3 separate regions of the Homo sapiens genome follow, and all the other regions are linked to region 2. The links are contacts of gene promoters, found by promoter capture Hi-C in blood cells and fetal thymus (Javierre and others, 2016). All regions are on one chromosome and are shown on one strand. Each heading gives the region's core, a stretch centred on a gene start or on the middle of the fragment in contact. The rest is flanking DNA. Distances are from core to core; before and after follow the strand shown.

The links. The method cuts DNA at HindIII sites, captures the fragments that hold promoters and counts their contacts. A CHiCAGO score of 5 or more calls a contact.
Region 1: a fragment that was not itself captured here is called in contact with the fragment with the promoter of PTGS1 in region 2 in 4 of 17 cell types (megakaryocytes, erythroblasts, endothelial precursors and 1 more); the score reaches 7.7 in megakaryocytes.
Region 3: a contact is called between a fragment that was not itself captured here and the fragment with the promoter of PTGS1 in region 2, in 15 of 17 cell types (megakaryocytes, erythroblasts, endothelial precursors and 12 more). The highest score is 10.5, in megakaryocytes.

The regions. Positions count from the first base shown.
Region 1 is chr9:122,144,020-122,147,910 of GRCh38, reverse strand. NDUFA8 (NADH:ubiquinone oxidoreductase subunit A8) reads left to right here. Exons shown (of 4, transcript NM_014222.3): 4 at 3,533-3,853. The coding sequence ends at 3,670. Among named protein-coding and RNA genes, the nearest start is that of NDUFA8, 14 kb to the left of the region's middle. The HindIII fragment of the contact is 1,481 bases long and covers 1,342-2,822 here.
Region 2 is chr9:122,368,785-122,372,857 of GRCh38, reverse strand. It overlaps PTGS1 (prostaglandin-endoperoxide synthase 1), which reads right to left and starts at 1,834. Exons shown (of 11, transcript NM_000962.4): 1 at 1,767-1,834; 2 at 1,586-1,672. The coding sequence starts at 1,773. The HindIII fragment of the contact is 9,806 bases long and covers 1-4,073 here.
Region 3 is chr9:122,125,810-122,129,410 of GRCh38, reverse strand. No RefSeq gene overlaps it. Among named protein-coding and RNA genes, the nearest start is that of MIR4478, 7.4 kb to the right of the region's middle. RefSeq lists enhancers at 1,203-1,968, 1,969-2,735, 2,736-3,501, 3,502-3,601. The HindIII fragment of the contact is 5,201 bases long and covers 1-3,601 here.

The DNA of each region.
Region 1 (3,891 bases), core at 833-3,332, 230 kb after region 2:
CTCACGCCTGTAATCCCATCACTTTGGGAGGCCGAGGTGGGCAAATCATGAGGTCAGGAGATCGAGACCATCCTCGCTAACATGGTAAAACCCCGTCTCTACTAAAAATACAAAAAATTAGCCGGGTGTGGTGGTGGGCGCCTGTAGTCCCAGCTACTTGGGAGGCTGAGGCAGGAGAATGGTGTGAACCCGGGAGGTGGAGCTTGCAGTGAATGGAGATTGTGCCACTACCTCCACTCCAACCTGGGCAACAGAGCGAGACTCCGTCTCAAAAAAAAAAAAAAAAAAAAAAATTTCTTTAGGCCTTCTAGCATGTGCAGGTTTGTTTTTAGTTAATTAGCTAATTAAAGAACAGAAGGGAGTAGAGAAAGATAAAGTATTAGTGAAACACTGTCAGTTGAAAACATTGTGGAGGTTATTGTGGAATTCACTGGGGAAATAGGATCAGGCTTATGCCACATTTTTCAGGAACATATCTAAGATTTTTTTTTTAAAACTACATTCTTGTACTTTTAAAAGTGTTTCTCTTTCTCCTATATTTCCTATCTTAGTTTTGACACCACCATCTGTTGAAACATCAGAGCTAGAAACCTGAATTCTTCATTCCCTACTGATTCCATGCAGTCATCACTTCCTTTAGATTAGCATCTTCTGGAATTTTTTTTTTAATCCTCTCATTGTTCCTGCTGCTGTTATCTTATTCTTGGACAGGAGTTCTTAACCTGGGGTACATGAATTTCTGGGAGAGGAGGGTGGATCAATGTGGGCTTTAGATGAAATTGAAGAATTGAGGATTAAATTACACCTCCACAAGAAGAGTGATCTGTGTGGAAAACAAATCTTATGTCACTGTGTTTTTAAAAACTGTACGGGGACTCTCCATTGCTGGTGAGATAAAGCATCTTCTCCATAACATGGCATGCAGGCCCTTTATGATCTGACCCATCCCTGCTTCTTCAGCCTCAGCTCCCTCTGTTCCCTGTGGAGCAGCACAGGTAGCAAGGCATGGAGGAAAAAACTCAGGTCTTACTCTCTCTCCTAGGCTGGAATGCAGTGGTGCGATCACAGCTCACTGCAGCCTTGACTTCCTGGGCACAGGTGATTCTCCCACCTCAGCCTCCCAAGTAGCTGGGACTACAGGCACAGGCCACCATGCCCAACTAATTTTTGTATTTTAGTAGAGACAGGATTTTGCTATATTACCCAGTCTGGTCTTGAGATCCTGAGCTCAAGCAGTCCTCCCACCTTAGCCTCCCAGTGTGATGGGATTACAGGTCACCATACCCGGTCTAGTTCCCTTCTCTTTGTGTATAGCATCTGTGAATGGTTGGATTATAAGCTTGGTGTCATGAGTAATAACTTAGCAATTTTTTTGTCTTTTATATCTGGCTTGATTATTTTCAGATACTTTTTGATGTACTGAACATATTATTTTAAATAGTTGATAATTCTAGATTGGAAAGTGGTAGAACTTATACATGTAACAAATAAAACTACCTTTTCTCATTTCTGACTTATGAAAGAAGAAATAACAAGTCATGCTAGTAAGAAAGCATATTTATTCTTGAATCTTTGTATTAACATTTTTTAAAACTCTGTGAGATAAAAAAAAAATTCTCTTAACTCTTTTCAAAAGTGTATTTCTCGATCAGGTGCCATGGCTCACACCTGCAATTCTAGCACTTTGGGAGGCTGAGGCAGGAGGATCGCTTGAGCTCACGAGTTCAGGACTAGCCTGGGCAACATTTTTTTTGTTTTTCTTTTTGAAGTGGAGTCTCACTCTGTCACCCAGGCTGGAGTACAGTGCCACGATCTCTGCTCACTGCAACCAGTGCCTTCCGGGTTCAAGCAATTCTGCCTCAGCCTCTTGAGTAGCTGGGATTACAGGCACCCGCCACCATGGCCAGCTAAATTTTGTATTTTTAGTAGAGAAGGGGTTTCACCATGTTGCCTGGGCTGGTCTTGAACTCTGACCTCAAGTGATCCACCTGCCTCAGCCTCCCAGAGTGCGGGGATTACAGGCATGAGCCACTGTGCCCAGCCAATTTCATAAATGTCTTTAATTCCTTAAAGGAGCTGCAAATACCAAGGAACCACTAGTGGATCATTAGGAACCATCTGTACTTATGACAGGGCGGTGGGATAACTTTCAAAAGCAAACAAACGAAACTAGTAGACTTGAAGACTTAGGTTCCAGCTTTAGCTCTGACATTAGTGTGTATCTTATCTTAGGCATGCCAACCTCCCTGGTCTTCATCTGTGCACTAGAGATAATAATGCCTCATAAGGTGGTTATAATAATAATTGGGTGATTGTATACACAAAAGCTCTGTTCCCAATAAAAGGTTTCTGAATTTATACATCTAGGAAGATGAATCTGGTCATTTTACATGAGGTGACTTAAGAGTTCAGCCCAGTAGAAGAATAATCAGAAGACTGCTGACAGCTGTGGCCTTATGTCTTCTTACTTCTCTGGGCCTATTTCTTTATCTTTAAAATGACAGCAGTTTCTGCTGGCTTTCCAGTTGAGATTTTTGTGACCATCAGGGGATACTGTGAGTGTAAATTATCTCTCTCCCTGTTGCAGTTTAGTACTTCACCACTCTCCTGGCTTATTGGCTCAGCTCCCCAATTTGGGTCTTGCCTCTCTCCACTTTAGCTTTCACACTTCCCAGCCTACAGAGATGGGATTTAGTTACTGCCGTGCTTCAGTGGCACCTGTTAACCGTCAGGTTAAAACGCAAACACCTTTGCATATCATTTAATACCCTTTATCATCTGGCCTGTCCACCACTGTAGTGTGGTATTAAGAAGCACAAGCTTTGGAGTAGGCATATCTGGCTTTGTGTACAATTTCTTCCACTATTAGCTAGGTGGCCTCAGTGAGCCCCTGCAGAATGACCTCCTAAGAGTGAAAATGGAATGGAATCATGTGCTCAGCATCATTTCTAGCAATAAGTTCTTGGTGAGATGCTTCATCTCCCTCCATTCTTCATGCAGCCTTTGATTCAGCCATTCTGAAGACATGCCTGCCTATCTTCATATGTAGTCTTTCCTTGGAATGTCTTTTCCTCCCTTGCCTTTCTGACTGGCTCCTGCTCAGACTTTAAGCTAAGTCTTACCTCCTTAAAAATATTCCAGACCCCCAGCCTTCAGGATGGGTTAGATGTGCACAGTCCTTGCTCCTATAGAGGCAGTTCCTGTCTCCATCATTGCCATTAGCCATCAGGGTGATTTGGAAATCTTGGTTGTTATTCCTGGCTTTCTCCCTCACTAGACTGTGATCCCCTTGAGGACAGTATCTTGTTCCCTTCTGTATCCCTAGTTTCTACCACATGGAATGACATAAAGTAGGCTTTCCTGAGTGTTTGTTCAATGATTAAATACGTCTGAATGTGATTTGCTGGGAATTTAAGTCGGGGAGCAGTTGTAGCAGCGGGAGCAATGAGGAGACACCAGGAGGCGCATTGATGGTTACAGATTCCTCCACCCTAGCTTTCAACTTTGCTTTTGCCCTCTTCACCCTTCCCAGGTCACCAAAGTGAAAACAGATCGACCTTTACCGGAGAATCCCTATCACTCAAGACCAAGACCGGATCCCAGCCCTGAGATCGAGGGAGATCTGCAGCCTGCCACACATGGCAGCCGCTTTTATTTCTGGACCAAGTAAAGATGGGTCCGTGGCCCACACTCGGTCATGTGCTCAGACAACGACTGATGAAAACGCCCATGCGGTTTGCATCGACTGATAGTGTGTTCTTTCCGGGATCACAAACATTAACAAAAAAGTTAACTTATGTGACTTGGCAGTTATTCTATACCATTTCCTGTCCATTAAAATTTTTAAAGGAAACGGTTGTATTTTATTATGTTTTATGTGACCTTTTGGCC
Region 2 (4,073 bases), core at 585-3,084:
ACTGGCATAAATAACCCTTGGGGATAAAAAAAAACAATTCCGTGTAAACATTTATTATACAAAAGGAAACAGAAAAGGCAAAAAACAAAATAGCACAGACCATGGCTCATTGTGCATTAGTGAATGGACTAAAAAAGAATACAGACGGGTGGGACCTGTATACCAAGAGTGCCTGGATGAGGCCAGATGGGGCCTCAGAGGAAGTGCTGGGCTGATCCAGGGACTGACAAGATGGGTCAGCGAGGCAACCTGAAGAGCCCCTTCTACTCCCCACCACCAGCTCACTGTGAGGATTCAGACAAGTGGCTTCACTCCCTCTGGGCCTCAGAGTCCCCTTCTGTAGACTGGGTCTAACGCATCTCTCTGGCAGGGCTGTTGAGAGCACCAAAGAGGTGGATGTCCACAACCAACCTTTGTAAACTTTAAAGTGCTGGCCACATGAGTCTTCCTCCTCCTCTTCCCATAAACCAGACTTTTATTCAACGCAATCCCTTTCCTAGAGCACCCTCCGTCCTCTCTTTGGGTCCCCTAAATGCCACCCACCCAAAGCCCGTTTCAGGAAACTTGGTCTGATCCAAAATCCATGTACATATCTTTCCTCTTTCCCCCACGCACCAGATCCTTAGAGCATCACAGCAGAAAGTGCGGACTCCCTCTGCTCCCTCCTGCCCTCTCTGGGCCTCATTTTAGAGATTTTACACAGCTAGGTGGTGGAGGAAACTATATCCAACTGGGACACATGCTCACACACACGCACACACACAAGCAGCGAGCTGGGGGAGGAAGGTTGGCTGAGCGAGGAGCTGAATTCCTTCACCTGGAACCTGGCACATGCATGGGGGAGGGAAGGGCGGAATTTCCCCATCAACCTCCCCCATGAAACCCAGAGTGGCTCCGGGTCCATTGTGGGTAGAAGCAGCTTTCTGTGGAAAGACCTTGCGAAGTGTGTGGACGCAGACAGACCTGAGTTCAGATCCTGGGCCCACCATGTATTTTGTGAGCTTGGGGAATCATGGCACCTACTGAGCCTCGGTTTCCTCATTTGCTCAATGGGGATCTCTTAAACCCCAGATGAAGCATCCCGGCTCCTAAATGTATTTCCATCTCCCATGTTCTCCCGAAGTCTTCACCAGGGGAGACCTTCTCCACTGGCAATGGGAATCAGGATGGGTTCCCAGACGGTTAGAGGCTGGAGAAAGGGAACTCATTTCCCTTGGTGCCTGCGGCTTCCTCCCAAAGAGGCCCCTATAGGAAACAGCGGGGTTGTTGGGTGCAGAGGCTGCTTAGACATCTGGGGCCCAGAACAGGTGAGGGGGATGGATAGGGACTGTCCCTTCTCCCCAAGTTGGCACCAGATCCCAGTCTGCTGTTTCCCCTGAAAGAACTAGATAGCCCATTAGCCAAGGCCACACCGCCGGGGGGGCTTCAGGGAGCCCCCATCCCACCAAAAGACTCAGCCTCAGTCTTTCTCAGCACCGCGAGCAGAAAGGGGAAGCTGGGCCCGCTGGAGGGGAAAGGAGGGGGTTGAAACCAGGCCAGGGGCGCAAGACCGGGGATTCCCTTGGGGAGGGATGGGGCCGCCTACCTGGCGTGGGCGCCCCTGGGTCCGCGAGCAGGACGGGGAGCGGCGGGAGCAGGAGCAGGAACAGCAAGAACCAGAGCAAGAGACTCCCTGCAGAGGAGAGAGATGAGGGGCTGAGCCTGGCATTCAAGGCTCCACCAGGAGGCCAAGAAAATTCCCCACCGGGCACCGGGGTCGCACTCACGGCTCATGGCGCGGCTGCTGGGGTGCGGGACGCAGAGTGCAGGCTCCTGTGCGTGCGCCTCGCACACTGCCCGGAGCTCCAGCCCATCCCCTCCCCACCCTTCCCCCGGCTCCACCCCCGCTCCTCCCTCCAGCTGTCACCTCGGCTGCCCGCTTACTTCCTCTGCCCAGCCCCGGCCAAGGCATTTTATTAATTAGTGTATGCTCGCCGCTAAAGCGGCTTTTCACCCAAGATCCTTGAAGCACTTACGTTTCTGATGCCTGGTGGCACTAGATATAGACAGGAAACTGAGGCTCAGAGACGATGCTCAATGCTGAGGTCACCCAGGGCTTAGGGACAGAACTGGGGATGGAAGCGGCTCGTCTGAACCACATACCCTGCCCCGCAGAGAAGAAAGGGTCTCAGAGTCCCCTTCTGTAAAATGGGTCTAACGCACTCTACAGAAAAGGGTAGAGAAGAAAAGGGGCTAGAAACAGGGCAGTCTGCAGAGAAGAAAGGGGGCTAGAAATGGGGCAGTCCAGCCTGGCCTGCTGATGGTTTCCTAGATGAGAAACTCACTACTCCTCAGACAGATCTAACAGGAAGGACTTACTTCCCCCATGGGCTGGGCTCCGCCCCCTGAAGCCACAGGTCTCTGCCAGAAATGAAAAGACCGGGCTCCAAACTCCAAGAGAGCCTAGTTCAAATCCAGACTCCACAGCTTACTGGCCGTGTCACCTTGGACAAGGTACTTATCTTTTCTAGCCCTCAGTATTCTCATCTATAAAATCGGCTTAATAGCAAAAACCATCCCAGAGGGTGGTTGTAAGATTCAATGAGGGAATGCACACAAATCTCCTGGTGCAGTGTCCAGCATGTAGTAGGTGCTCAGTTATCGGAAGGCATTTTTTCAAAGATCTCTGAACTCAGATTCCAGGGCTGGCCAGGGTCCATGCTGTAGCTAGACTCACATCCACCGCCGAATTTATAGAATCCCAGCATCCAGCTCTCCTTTTCGCCAGCTCAGGAAGCACCTAGAAGGAGGAAGGAATAGGTCCAAGATCACCCAAAGTCCCATGGTGCTGGCACCCACAAGTCATCTCCCTCAGTTTCCCCAGCACACCCAGCCATCCTGTGGGCCCCACAGTGGGGAAAGCCGGCAGGAGAGCTCAGAGGTTCTTGTGCTGGCTCCTGGGCATCACTGGGTGCAGGGTAGAAATTATGCCAGGTGGGAGAGGTGAAACCTGCTGGGAAGCCCCTCCCCCATTCTCACCCAAGCTGTTCCCATGCTCCCCTGGGACAAAAGCCAGCTGCCCTAGGGAGACAGAGCAAGCCAGGGCAGACCTGGAGAAGGAGTGGGGCATTGGAGGGCCCTGGGGCTCTCAGGGTGCCGGGACCGGCTTCAGCCTTCCCTTCCTCCCCAAATCAAGGGCCCCCTAGCATTTACAGGGCAAGGAGATGGGATTATCAGCAAAAGGGATGGGGACAGGGTGGAGGTGTGGGGGTCCAGTTGTCCAAAGAAAGGGGGAGTTTCTGGTGAGAAGAAAGGAGAGACGGGCTTGAATGAGGTTCCATCTTCCACTCCCAGGCCCTCCCTCCCTTTGGGCCCTGAGCCCATCAAGTCACCACACCTGTGCCTCCTGCTGACTTCCAAGCCACCCATCTGCACTCAAAACAAGAAACACTTGTGTGGCCCTGGCACTGATGGGAAGAGCCTTCACCTCAGAATCAGAAGTGAGTTCAAGTCACTTCTTCCATAGCGTGACCTTAAACAAGCCGCTAGGCCTCACTGGGCCTCTGTTTCCCCATTTGAACAACAGAATGAGCAGATCAGATGGTCTCTGAGGACTGGTCCAGTTCCAGCATGGAGCAATTGAGCCCTCACTGCAGCCAGGCTCTGTGACCAGCACCACAGATCTCAACACAGCTGCAATACAGGAGAGGATGGAGTCTGAGAGAGCAGGCAGGGTGCCGAGGCAGCCCTCCAGGGATGAGGCAGGACCAAGAGCATGGAGTGGGGAGAAGGTAGATGAGAGAAATGGTGGCAGAAGTGCCAGGGCTTGGTGACCGATTAGCACTAGAGCTTAGGGGAAGAAAGGTGCTGAGGACACCTAGCCTTCTGGCTCAATGCTGGTGGTAATATCCAGGGAAGGGGAGCTGGCATGGGTAGGTGGAATTTGAATTTGGGCTTCTTGTATTTGATCCACTTCAAGGAATGAGGAGGATCAAACCTTCCCTGCCTTCTCCAGCTTGGCCCATGGGCCAGCACCCCCAACCGCCCCAGCATGCAGCTGGATACACAGGGGAGAGGTCTGGGGTAGCCCTTGC
Region 3 (3,601 bases), core at 878-3,377, 240 kb after region 2:
GTGGATTCAAGTCCTGACTCTTTTTCTTCCCAGTTGAGGAAGAACCTTGGGGAAGAGGCTTTGACCCTCTGGGGTCAGTTCTGTCTCCATTACATGGGCGGAGTAACCTACCTCCCAGGATGAGGGCCCTGAAAGCAAGTGGTCCATTAAGGAAAGGTCAAATAGGGCTTGGAAAGGGACTGTTTTTCAAGAATGACAAACTCGTGTGAGTTTCGCTTAGAAACCCTGACTCGGCTGCCTCCAGCAGGTGGGGGCCTGGCAAGGGTTCCTCATGCGTGAAAGCTCTGGAACGTTTCTGGGGTCTAGGGTCTGGGTTTAAGTCTGGCCTGCAGGTGGGAGGGTCTCTGTGCCTTCCTTTCCTTCATCCTATTGTTTACTAAGCACCAAGTACCGACTGGGTGCCCAGTGAGTTAAATAGCTCTTCTTTCCAGATGAGGAAACTGAGGCACAGAGAAGTCTGGTGACTTGCCTGAGGTCAACCAGCCAGAAAGTGGCAGAGCTGGGTTTTAAACCTCGGTCTCCTCGTCCAAAGCCATTGCCTCTGGCCTCTGCCCAGCACTTGGAGATGCCAATGGGCTGTTCACCAGGAGTCACTCATGGCAACTGCCTCACAGATGGCCTGGGTCCCTCACAGGCAGGGGTCAGCTGTGCATCATGCATTGGGACACGCAGGAGCAGGGAGGCTGCCGGGCCGGGGAGGCTGCAGGGCCAGGCGCGGCCGGATTCACAGGTTGAAGACTGTTCCTCTGGGCTTCCGGACTCCGTGCCTTCCCCCACAGCCCCTTCCCGGGCCGCCTCCCTTCCTGGCCCGGTGCTGGGGGTGACTAGCGGGTGGGGTGGCATCCGGGCTGGGGCTAGAACTGTGAAGAGGGTGTCTGGGTAGAGACTGATGGCCTGTCAGTTGGCTGCCAGCACATCCTCAAATTCTTTGTCTCTGTGTGGAGTGGGGACTGTGGAGGGGGCAGGGGTTGGGCACAGCAGAGGAGGAGGATGCCGGGGTGGGGGCAGGAGAGGGGCATGGCGGGTTGCGGGAGGCCTCCGTGGTCTGCTGGTGCTTACGCTTGTCGGCGGTGTGTGTCTTCGGGAAGTCAGGTCCTTGCCCCCTGCTTTGGGGCCAGAGACAGGAGTTCAGATCCTAGCTCTGCTCCCCACTTGCTGGGGGTGGGGGGGTCCCAGGCCTGTATCGTTCCTGTTTCCAGTCCTAGGCCTCTGTTTCTTCATCCATGCAATGGGTCTATCCAGCTCTGACCTGCTGTGATCTCTGTAAATCTGAGCTGATTAGAACATTTGGCCCTGAAATTCCAGAGGCCTTTAGGCTTCCCTGATGGAGGGAGCATGGGGCTGAGTCTTGGTGCTGTCAGGGAGGCACTGAGGGGGCTGGGGGTGGGGTCAGAGAGGTGGGGAAGGTGAACCCTCCCCACTGCAAGGCCTGGCAGTAGGGCAAAACCAGGCTGCTTATCTCCCCAGCCTGGGCACCCTGGATGACTGTGCTGGGGACATGGGGCTGATGGAGGGGTCGCCAGGGAGGAGGCGGAGAAGACAGAGATGTCATCTGTCCTGAAAGACACAGCCCTTCAGGGCTTCCTGCCCTCTCTGCAGTTCTTGCCAGGTCACCTGGGCCCCAAAGACCCCACAGTTCTGTTCACCAGCCCCCTTCAGTCCTTGTCACCTGGCTACTGCTAGGCAGCCACACTCAGCTCCATGATCTCACCAGCAGCCAAGTAGCTGAACACACAGTCACAGCGCCCCCGCCCCCACACACACACATAGGCACAAAGCCTGTGGCACAGTCACACATGGGCTTGTAGAGTTATAGGTGCCCCCGCGTGCACAGCCCTCCTGGGAGCCAGCACGGGAGATCACGCATGCGTGCCCACCCCAGCGTGTGGGTGAGCCCAGGGCTGTGCCCAGCCCAGCTCTTAGAGAACCACTCTGAGGCCTCCCTAGACAGAGTCGCAGGAGCCGTCCTAGAGGGGTGGGGGTGGTGATGGGATGAGAAGCTCTCTGTGGGCCTCTGATCCCCTCCTTTAATAAAAGGAGCTAGAAGGCCCCCTCCTCAGCACCCCACCCCCCAGCCTCAGCACCCAAAGCATCCATTATTCCACCCGATGCCCCCTCTAGTTCTGCGGGGTGAGTGCGCTGAGCACATCTTACAGAGGGCAAACTGAGGCTGGGGAGGAGAAGGGGGGTTGCCCAAGGGCAGAGCTGGTGAGGTCAGAAGCAGAATTGCAAGCCGGGGCGGTGGGCCCCCAAACCTGTGTTCTCTCAGGCCGCCCACCCCCATCTGCCGGGCTGGGGTGTGGACCCCGAAGCGTGCCCCGGGCCCCCTCCACCCCAGCACCCAAGGGCCTCCCGGACACAAAGCCACCTGGCGGCGCTCGAGGGGGCGCGCGTGGGAGCGCGCACGGTGGCCCGCGCCTCCGGCCAAGATGTTCCCTCTCCGCGTGATTGACAGGCTCGAGTGCCGAGAAACAAAATTGTTTATGCGCTAATGAATAAGGCCCTGATTGCAAGATCCTGTTTGGAAAATTATAGTGCGGCGGCGGCGGCGGCGGCCGCGGCGGCCCAATTACAGCCCGCGCTGCATATTCATTTCGTCTCTCCTTTGCATCGAGATGAACGGGCGCCCCGCGCCCTGCAAAGGCAACGCCAAATTTAGTCCCAGGTTCCGCACTCCTCCGCGCCATTGTCTGCCCCGGACCACCTGCCTCCTGCCGGCCTGATTGCCCGGGAGGGCGCGAGCAGGGAGGCCAAGAAAGTTCTCCCTACCCCTCCTCCTGGCAACCCCTTCCCTCGGTTCTCTCCGCTCCCTCCTCCGACTCCCCGTCTCTGTCTCCCTTCCCCTCCCGGTGTCTCTTTCTCCCTCTGTTCTCTCTCTACTTATTCTGTGCCCCGCACTTCCTCTCCTCGCTCTAGGCCTCTATCTGGGTGCATCACCGGTCTAGAATGTCAGTCGCTGTCCCTCCCCCTCCAGCTTCACATTCCCTGCGTTCCTGGGTCCCTGGGTACAGCAGGGGCAGTAACGGGGACCGTCTGCTCCTTGGAGGTCACAGAGGTATGAGGCGGGTCTCAAGACCCCTGCCTTGGCTGTGAGCATGGGGTGGCTTGGCTCGTCCCCGCAACCAAGCTGCTGGGGAGAGAGGCCCCTCCCTGCCCGCTGCCTCTGCCGCCTCCCGCATGCCACCAGATCCACTTATCCTGCGGCTCAGGCCCCTTGGCTGCCCAGGCTGCGCCCTCACACCTCCCTGCCCTGCACATGCTGTTCTCTTGCTGGCACGCCCGTCCTGTCTTCCCAGACGCATCCCAAGTACAGCTCAGAGCAGCCTTCCCCTGTCCCCACCACCGCAGGCAACAGGACAGCTCCCTCCCAGAGCACGCTGGTGTCCAGGCATGTCCTGCAGGTACAGCAGCAGGCAGGGTACACTGGCGTCCTTCTCCCGGGCCTGACCAGCCTGGGGGCTGCCGGTGAGTCACCAGGAAGCTCTGGTGTCCAGCTCAAGGCTGATCAAACGGACACCTCCACTGTGATATGGGGGTATAGTCTCCCTGTCCTTGTTGTATGGTGATGGTGGGCAGGAGGGGAGAGGAGGCTGGGAGGGAG